2 separate regions of the Homo sapiens genome follow, and region 2 is linked to region 1. Evidence: promoter capture Hi-C in human tissues and cell types (Jung and others, 2019). All regions are on one chromosome and are shown on one strand. The core of a region is centred on a gene start or on the middle of the fragment in contact, and the rest is flanking DNA. Distances in the headings are between cores, read along the strand shown.

What was found. The method cuts DNA at HindIII sites, captures the fragments that hold promoters and counts their contacts. A contact is called where the count stands out against the background at its distance.
Region 2: a contact is called between a fragment that was not itself captured here and the fragment with the promoter of GJC1 in region 1, in 2 of the 25 tissues and cell types used here (mesendoderm cells and spleen).

Annotation. Positions count from the first base shown.
Region 1 is chr17:44,828,220-44,832,977 of GRCh38, reverse strand. GJC1 (gap junction protein gamma 1) reads left to right here and starts at 2,691. Exons shown (of 3, transcript NM_005497.4): 1 at 2,691-2,916. RefSeq lists enhancers at 1,086-2,059, 2,060-3,033 and a silencer at 3,089-3,378. The HindIII fragment of the contact is 21,747 bases long and covers 1-4,758 here.
Region 2 is chr17:44,879,657-44,884,465 of GRCh38, reverse strand. It overlaps EFTUD2 (elongation factor Tu GTP binding domain containing 2), which reads left to right. Exons shown (of 28, transcript NM_004247.4): 5 at 742-817; 6 at 1,308-1,373; 7 at 2,744-2,779; 8 at 3,822-3,912. It also overlaps the pseudogene RN7SL405P. Among named protein-coding and RNA genes, the nearest start is that of EFTUD2, 17 kb to the left of the region's middle. The HindIII fragment of the contact is 7,445 bases long and covers 1-4,809 here.

The sequences.
Region 1 (4,758 bases), core at 1,442-3,941:
TTTTATGGCTTGCTTTGGGGGAGAGGGGTTCTAGTTTCTATGACCCGCCTTGGGGAAGAGGAATTTTTATTTCTATGACTCGCTTCAGGGGAGAAAGGGGCGGGAGACAGGAGGGCAGGAGAAGGTCAGAGAGAGACTTTGCTTCTGAGGCCTTCCAATCTCCTTTAGTTCAAAGCACTCAGCACGCCAAAGCTCCATACTTTGGGATATTGTTTTCTTTCTTTCTTTTTTAAAGAGATGGGGTCTCGCTCTGTCTTCCAGGCTGGAGTGTAGTGGCATAATCATAGCCCACTGCAGTTTCCTGAGTAGCTGGGACTACAGCCACCACGCCCTGGGAAATCATTTTCTGAGCCTCAACAGTAGATATTGCCAGTTTTGCAAAGTCCGCTGGGCACGGTGGCTCATGTCTGTAATCCCAGCTCTTTGGGAGGCCAAGGCGGGCAGATCACTTGAGGTCAGGATTTGAGACCAGCCTGGCCAACATGGTGAAACCCCCTTTCTACTAAAAATACAAAAATTAGCCAGGCATGATGGCGGGCACCTGTATTCCCAGCTACTCCGGAGGCTGAGGTAGTAGAATCTTTTGAACCTGGGAGGCGGACATCGCAGTGAGCCGAGATCACCCCACTGCACTCCAGCGTGGGCGACAGAGTGAGACTCTGTTGCAAAAACAACAACAAAGTGATTTAGGCCAGGCACGGTGGCTCATGCCTGTAATCCCAGCACTTTGGGAGGCCGAGGCAGGCGGATCACAAGGTCAGGAGATCGAGACCATCCTGGCCAACATGGTGAAACCCTGTCTCTACTAAAAATACAAAAATTAGTTGGGCGTGGTTGCGTGCGCCTGTAGTCCCAGCTACTCGGGAGGCTGAGGCAGGAGAATTGCTTGAACCGGGGAGGTGGAGCTTGCAGTGAGCCTAGATGGCGCCCACTGCACTCCAGCCTGGCGACAGAGTGAGACTCTCCCTCAAAACAAAACAAAACAAAAAAGTTATTTGTACTAGTTTACAGTTGCAGGCTGTGAGAATTTTAATATTTTATTCAACAGGTACAATGATGTTGTTTCCTGTGTTATTTTAGTTACATGCTATTTATTATTTCCAGGTATTTTCAGAGTTTTCACCCTGGTCATTTTATTTTTTTCACTTATTTTTTTGAGACAGGGTCTCACTCTGTCGCTCAGGCTGGAGTGCAGTGGCGCTATCTCAGCTTACTGCAGCCTTGACCTCCCGGGCTCAAGCGATCCTCCCACCTCATGCTTGGAGTAGCTAGGATCACAGGTGCGCGTCACCACACCCGGCTAATTTTTGTATTTTTTGTAGAGATGGGGGTTTTGCCATATTGTCCAGGCTGGTCTGGAACCCCAGGGCTCAAGCAATCCGCCTGCCTAGGCCTCCCAAAGTGCTGGAATTACAGGCGTGAGCCACCGCGCCCATCCCACACTTGTCATTTTAAATACATCTGTAGAGAGGCAATGTGATAAGGCGTGGGGACAGACTACAGCAATCACAGGGAGAAGTACTTAAATGCTCCGAGGCCAAGCAGGTCATGAAATGATTTAAGCAGCTGAGTGGGGACATTGCCTACCCGGACAAGGTGACTCAAGAGGAGCTGCCATGTGAAAAGAGAAGCTCAAAGTAAGCAGCTTTTGACTTTTTAGGGAGGCCAGAAATCTGGATTTTAATATTTTGGTAACTAATTCATATTTTTGGAAAACATACTGGCCACACAAAACTGGTCAGTGCATTAGATGCCTAGCCTTCAAGATTTCCACTCTGGGGCTACCCCTTAGGGCTTGGCTTTGGGTGGGGGAGTTTGACTTGCAGCAAGTAACCTCACTTGTTAGCGCTTAATTTCCCCTCTGGTCAAAAGGGCAAAATAATAAAAGCCTGTCCATCGGCATTCTGATGCTCAGATGAGATCATTCCAGAGGTCGCCCATCTCTTTACTGAGCCTTCCTTTATTACCCAAAGTCTTACTCTACTTAAAGCATTTGGAGAATTTTCGGTTTCCTACTGGGCATTTTAAAACTGGGGATTCCTATGCATGAAAATTTTTCCCAAGTCCTCTGAATGGGATCCTGCTGGGATGCAAAGAGTTAAGAGGAAATAGCCTATTAGGGTCTTGCTAATCCGAGAAGTTCAGGACCTGAAAAGTATCTAGAGCACTGCTAAGAGCCCCGACTCTAGCTAGATCCACGCAGGGCCCGCCAGATCCTCGAGGAATTGTAGAGCAGAACCTGGGAGGAGACATTAGCATCCCGTGCTACAATGGACCAAGGCCTCGGCGGAGCGCGCAGAAGACAACTCTGGGCCCGCTAAACCAACCCAGGATACCCAGGTAAGGCGAGAACCCACGGCGCCGTTAGCGGCCCGCTCAAACTGAGGCGCGGCTGGCGGGGGACTCTCGCCCGAAAATCAGCTTGGAAGAATGAACTGTCCGGAGCGAAGTCTGCGCCCACCCGGGGTCCAGACTCCACGCGGGTGACTCCCACGCGCGCCGCGCCTCCGCCGCGTCCCGGACTATCCGAGAGAGCGGCGAGGACTCGACCGCGGAAAGTTGGCGCTCGCGTCGCTTCCCGCGCGTTCTGGGGCGCCCCCCTCCCACTCGAGCGCCACGTGCCGCGCGCCCCCCGCTCCCGGGCCGCGGCGGGACGCCCCCGCCCCCACCGCAGCGCGCAGTGCGCAGGCGCCTTCCCGCGGGTCGCGGCGGCGGGAGCGGGAGGCGGCGGCGGCGGCGGCAGCGGCGGGAGCGGCTTCTGCCTCGGCTGGAGACTGAGGCGAAGGCGGCAGCGGCGGAGGAGGTGGAGGAGAGGCGAGGGTGAAGGCGATGGCGACGCGGGGCACATGAGGCCGCGACCGGCGGGACGGGCCGAGGCCCGGCGGAGGAGGCGGCTCCGGGGGAACCCGCCGCCGGGTGAGGGGCGGCCGCAGGGCCGGCTGAGGAGAAGCGGGCCAGGGGCGGGGTCCCAGGGGGAGGCGGGAGAACTCTTGGGGAGCCCGGGGAGGGGCCGAGGAGAACCTCCGGAGGTCCGGGGAGGAGCGCGGCCAGAGCGGGAGAAGGAGGGGGGCGCCGCCGAGGGGTTCCCGCCGAGTCCGGAGGGGCGTCGCCGGCCCGCGTCCTGCCACTGTCCCCGGCGCACCCTCCCTCTTTGTCCCCAGGCGCGCGGCTCCCAAATCGGGAGGGAAACGGCTCGGGGGTGTCCTGGGCCGCGGAGGTGTCGGGCGACGGTCGGGGAGCCCGGACAGAAGCGGCGCGCACTCGGCGGCGCCCCGGCGGTGCCGACAACTACCCGGGCGGTTAGGGGCGCAGGGCGGAGCCGGGCCGCCCCTCGCCGCCCGGGCTCTTCGCGGGCTGCTCTTTGTCTCCCCGACCTCGATCCCTGCGTCTCCGGCGGCGTGCGGGCTCGTCTGAGGCTTCCCGCATCTCCCCGCTGGAACTCCTGCCTCCCGGGGGTTAGAGGAGGGTTCGTTCGAGGGCTGGAAGCGGGAAAGCGGGGCGGAAGGACTGGGCTCATCGCCTCCTGATTAACTCGTTGTCTTTACTTAAAATGACTTTTCCCCCACTTTGTCAAACTTGAGAACTGTTTTGTGTGTGTGTGTGTTTCCTTAAGTCTCTAGCTTCAAAATTAAGAGTAGGCGCTACCGCTGTGATTGTGGGCAGTTGTGTGGTTGGCGGCTGCGTTTGGAGCTCTGAGTTGAAAAGATGTACGTGAATGTATGGTTTAGATTTTGTTCTTTTTTTTGCGATTGTCTGATTGGGAGTACTTTTCCTTTGCGAAATGGGCGAATTTGGTTTTCTTTTTGTTCATTGAGAACTGGCAGTGATACCGATTTCATTATGCTCATGCTTAATTTTGTTAGCATCAAGACGATGTGAAATCGAGTAAGTTAAGTTTGAATAAGTTCAGGCTGAGGGTCATCTTGTATGCCTGATAAGTCTAAATTTGTTATATGTTTGTGTCGTGTATACGTTCAAGTGAATATATGTGAAAGCGCTATAAAAAATCAAACTACATAAATGAAAGGGATTTTAATTTCCTGATAAGCAGGAAACAGCATATCTCCAGTACTTTAATATCTGTAGAAAAATGCGTTAATAATGTCATTTAGGAATAAAATATTTCTCTCCCTAGAGAGGGTTTAGGTATTATTCAGAGTAAAAGAGCAAAAAAATTTCAACCTCAGAGGGTATGGAAAAAAACAGAAAAATACCCTTACTTCCAGAGCTCCTGATTAAAATATTGTGAGTTGTGGGTTAAGTTTACTGATTTAAAAAAAACTTAGCATAGAGTTGTATCACTGCAGTTGCTTTGAATGTCTTAAGTACTGTGTAATGTCAGAATTAAACACGAACTAACTTTTCTGGGTAGAAGGTAAAAAGCTCCAATAAACAGATCTTAGTTTTCCCCAGATTTTTGTGCCCAGAGTGCTGTAGGCAAAGGGCATATTGAAGAGATACATAGAAGTTGTATGGAAGGTCTGTTAATATTTGTCCTGATTTGTAATGGCTTAATATTATTTACTACTTAAACTGTTGTGCATTTTTCCAAAGCATTTCAAACAACCTCTTCAAAAGCCAGCACTTTTAACTTTTGAGGTTGTGTGACTTAAGAATTGTTTTCTACCAGAAACAGTTCTCTTAAAAAGTTCTACCACAGTTCTCTTAAAAAGGAGCAAAGGACCTGGTAATTTTCTCTGTAATCAATTCATGCAGGTAAAATTGAGTTTTAGCCTTTAATCCAGAGGACTTAATTAA
Region 2 (4,809 bases), core at 209-2,708, 53 kb before region 1:
CTCTCTACAACCTCCACCTTCCAGGTTCAAGTGATTCTCCCGCCTCAGCCTCCTGAGTAGCTGGGATTACAGGCGCATGTCACCACGTTCAGCTAATTTTTATATTGTTAGTAGAGATGGGGTTTCACCATGTTGGAAGTCCTGGCTGGGTGTGGTGGCTCACGCTTGTAATGCCAGCACTTTGGGAGGCCAGGGCAGGTGGATCACCTGAGGTCAGGAGTTCGAGACCTGCCTGACCAACATGGTGAAACCCCGTCTCTGCTGAAAATGCAAAAATTAGCTGGTCGTGGTGGCCTCGGCCTCCCAAAGTGTTGGGATTACAGGCGTGAGCCTCTGCTCCCGGCCTAATTTTTGTATTTTTAGTAGAGACAGGGTTTTACCATGTTGGCCAGGCTGGTCTTGAACTCCTGACCTCAGGTAATCCACCCACCTCGGCCTCCCAAAGTGCTGGGATCACAGGCATGAGCCACCATGCCCAGCCTCTTCTTCCTTTTTTAGTCTTGCTGTTTTACTATTGAAATCCCCGTGATAGTCCATTCACAGATTGTGTTACCTCTTGGATAAGTTTCTTGCATTCCCAAAGCCAGAGCTATGTAAGTATAGACATTCACATCTGCCTGAGCACTCTCCAGTTGGTCTGAAAGTTGTTCCTGGCCAAAAAATACCTGAAACACCTTTACACCACTCCTCATTTGGAAACGTTTGCCAATCTCTCTTTTCTCTTTTCCTTTGTCCTTTCAGTTTCTTGGCGGATCTGATGGATAACTCAGAGCTCATCAGAAATGTGACCCTTTGTGGACATCTCCACCATGGCAAGGTAAGACGGAACTTTCAGCTACTTGGAACAGGATTTCTCTTTTGTACCTGCTCATGTTTTAGCCCTTAGAGTCACAGCGGTTGAGGTTTGAGGTCACAAGGCTCAACCTCCTGACTAGGGGTGCTGCATGCCTGTTACGAAGTCATACTGTGAAATTCTGGCTTTTCCCAAGCAGCAGGTGGAGCCTGTTCCTAAGCCACTTGCATGCCTGAGCCTTATGTCTACATCTGGACAGAAGATGGGAAATTGAGCCTTACTCTGATTTTTATAAGTTTTCATTTCCTGAGGGATGCCTGTCTAAGAAAGATTTCATCTTTTATTTGAAAATAATCCTGTGGCTTCAGTGTTAATTATTTGCTGTCCCATAACCCTCCTTGCTCTCCTTTTTCTCTCCTTATCCCTAAATTATGTGGTGTATTGGGAGCTGGGGGAAGGGCACAGTAAATTTTCCTCTGTGGTCGGCAGATGTTAACTGTTTCTTCCCTTTTAGACATGTTTTGTGGATTGTTTAATTGAACAGACTCACCCGGAAATCAGAAAGCGCTATGACCAAGATGTAAGTAGAACTTCTGTTGAGGGTTTAGGATGAACCATTCAGAACAGATAGAGATGTCTCTCTCCTCCTTCCTTCACCCTTCCTGTTCTCTATAAATAATGACGCCTCCAAAGTGCAGCTTTATAATTGTGATCTCTATTAATAGGCTGTAAGAAAATAATTTCAACTTTCTCGGGAGCATAGAGAATATTGAGCTGCAGTATTTTTGGATGATCCATTTTGCACTTGGGATCCCTCCTCTGTTATGATATATCCTGACTTTTATAGTCTATTCTTTCCTGTTATAGTATTAATAGCCTGCTCTATAAATATGGTACAATTGTACCTGGTTTTCATGGTAAATTTAAATGCCTGTGAATGAGGCCAACTGTGTCTGCAAGTCTCAGTGCAATAAATGTTCAAACCCTGCCAGATTGATTGTTTTAACACTTTAGCATTAAGGCTGACATGTGTCTCCCTTTACCACACTAAGAATTCTGTGCATTTGATATAAATTATCTCTCAGCTATACCTGGTCTTTAGTGACCTCCCCCAACTCAAAAAGAGTGGTGGCTCATGCCTATAATCCCAGTACTTTGGGAGGCCAGGACAGGAGCATCACTTGAGGTCAGGAGTTTGAGACCAGCCTGGCCAACATGGCGAAACTCTATCTCTACTAAAAATGCAAAATGTAGCTGGGTGGGCACGGTGGTGCACACCTGTAGTCCCAGCTACTCAAGGGGCTGAGGCAGGAGAATCGCTTGAACCTGGGTGGTAGAGGTTGCAGTGAGCCAAGATTATGCCACCACACTCTAGTCTGGGCGACTGAGTGAGACTCCATCTCAAAAAAAGACAAAATCACAACCAAAAAGAAAAACCCAGCCATGTGTGGTGGCTCACGCCTGTAATCCCAGCACTTTGGGAGGCTGAGCCGGGGGGATCACATGAGGTCAGGAGTTCGAGACCAGCCTGACCAACATGATGAAACCCTGTGTCTACCGAAAATACAAAATTAGCTGAGCATGGTGGCGCACGTCTGCAATCCCTGCTACTTGGGAGGCTGAGGCAGGAGAATCTCTTAAACCCTGGAGGCAAAGGAGGTTGCAGTAAGCTGAGATCGCGCCATTGCACTCCAGCCTGGGCTACAAGAGCAAAACTCTGTCTCCAAAAAAGTAAAAATAAAAAAATCCCTCCACACACCCAGGAGCATTTCCAGCTGGGAGGGCACTGGTCTCATTGTCTGTAATTGCTGTGGGGACACCCTGCTCTCTCTCTCTCTTTAATCTCAAAGAAACCCTTGAGCTGGGAGGTAGTGAGGGAAAGTGATTGATGGTTCGTTTGTGGGAGAGCAGTCTCAACTCAGGTGGTAACAACAGTTAATTTTTTTTCAGCTGTGCTATACTGACATCCTCTTCACAGAGCAAGAGGTAAGCATGCCTTGGGGAATCTGATTGTCACCTACACCAGACCCACCAGTAATAGTTTTGTAGGGAATGTAGAGGAGCCTTTATGATAGCATTTTAGTTCATATCCTACTCCTCTCTCTCCACTTCTCACATCCCATCTCCTTCTTCCCCCAGTTACTCCAGGGTTATAACTTGAAAAAGAACTGGGTAGGCAAGCTGTAGGTTAGGAGGGGAACCCTCCTGTTCTTGACTAGATTAAATTTGGCCTAATATAGGAGAAGTACTAAGAGGCGATGTCTGCATTTGTGCTATAAGTTACGCAGAAGCTCAACATGATTTTTTTAAAATGACATCATCCTTTAAAAATCCGCAGGATGAGTCCATCCATATGATGACCTCTTTCTAGGAGTAGCTTCTCTTTGAAAATGGGTTCCTATATCTTTGTGTTTCTCTTTTTGTCTTTCCTTCCGGATCTTTCTCTCTAATCTCTGACCCCTTCTGTTTCCCTCCTCTTATTTCTGTCTCTTTTTCCTAATGGAAGTTTTAAGTATAATAAGTATGGTTAACTAAAGGCACTTGGAATTAGTAAAGATAGATAGGCAATCAATGTTAGCTGTTATTATTTTATAATGTATTTATGTATTTGTTTGGAGTTTTAAAAAAAATGTTTATTTCTGTCATAGCTTTTATATTTCTTTTTTAAAAAAAAACTAAAATACCCCAGATTGTTTCTTTTTACTTTCAAGGTGCTCAGCTATTGTTTTTGTTTCTAATGTATAAAGAGGATGAGATTCTAGGACCCTGGATTCTCTGATAAGGCTTAATACTGTTTTGTTTGCAGTAATTCATTTTCATCTTTTCACATTTGAAACAAGTCCCCCAAAAATGGTGTCTAACACCAAGATATTTTATCTTCAAGGTCATGCTGGCTAGAGGCCTAGATAAAAATCACCCACTATAAGGAGAGGCATCAGTGTAATTTACTAGCAACTGGGGAGCCCCAAAAACAAAATGAACCCCTCTTGCATAGGAAGAGGTCTTGACCACTCTTTGTTCCTTTCAGAGAGGTGTAGGCATCAAAAGCACTCCTGTGACAGTGGTCTTGCCAGACACCAAAGGAAAATCTTATCTCTTCAATATCATGGACACTCCAGGTAGGACATCCTTTGGCTTTTGATTATTAGAACCTTGTCTTGGTTTTGCGTGTGTCCTCTCACTTTTCGGAGCAGAACGGAGCAGTGCATCTTTGTTTTTACATTCCCTCACCTTCATTGAAACCATTTTCCATTTTGACTCTCTCCTTTGTTTCTGACTTGTTAATTTAGCAAGCATCATACTCCAGGCCTTCTATTCATGTCTTTACTCTTTCGAATATTTAAAAATGTTAGGGAATTGTATTCATTTATTCATTTCAGCCTGTCAGGCCCCATGCTATCTGCTGGGGAGCTAAAGGTGAGTCAGAGCCAGTCCCTGGCCTTGAGTACTCTCAGTCTTTTGAAGGAGACTGGTGAACATCCTGATGACCTTGGGAGCAGCGCACCTTGGCTGACTCTTCCTCCTATGGAAAGGACCAACTGGGGCAGAGTTTTTAAAAACTGGAAGGTTTTAGGTTTTGGCTGATTTGCTTTCTTGGCACCATCTGATGCCCAGTGTCCTGATACCTCTCAGCCCCTGCCCCCATAGCACCTTGCCAGGAACTGCCTTCCTCGAGCAGCACACTGTGCTCCAGGCCCTGCTTTGCCCTTTCTCCTGCCTCCAGATTGTCTTGAATCCCACAGAACTCTACTTACTGCTGATTAGGCTAAGCTGGTCTGTGTGTGTGGACTCATGCTCTCCTGGGCATGAGTCCCAGGAGTCCCTCTTTTTATGTAGGGAGCCTCCCGTAGGAAAGCTTAATGCAAGGATATGACACTAATGGGGGATATTTTTACCCTGTGGGGGGTTATGGCGAGGAGGAAAGGGGATATTCGGAGGTTCACGGGCTTTGAAGTGCCCCCTCAGTTCACCCTACCAGTTAATTGTGCTTTATCCTGCACCAAGTGATGACTTAC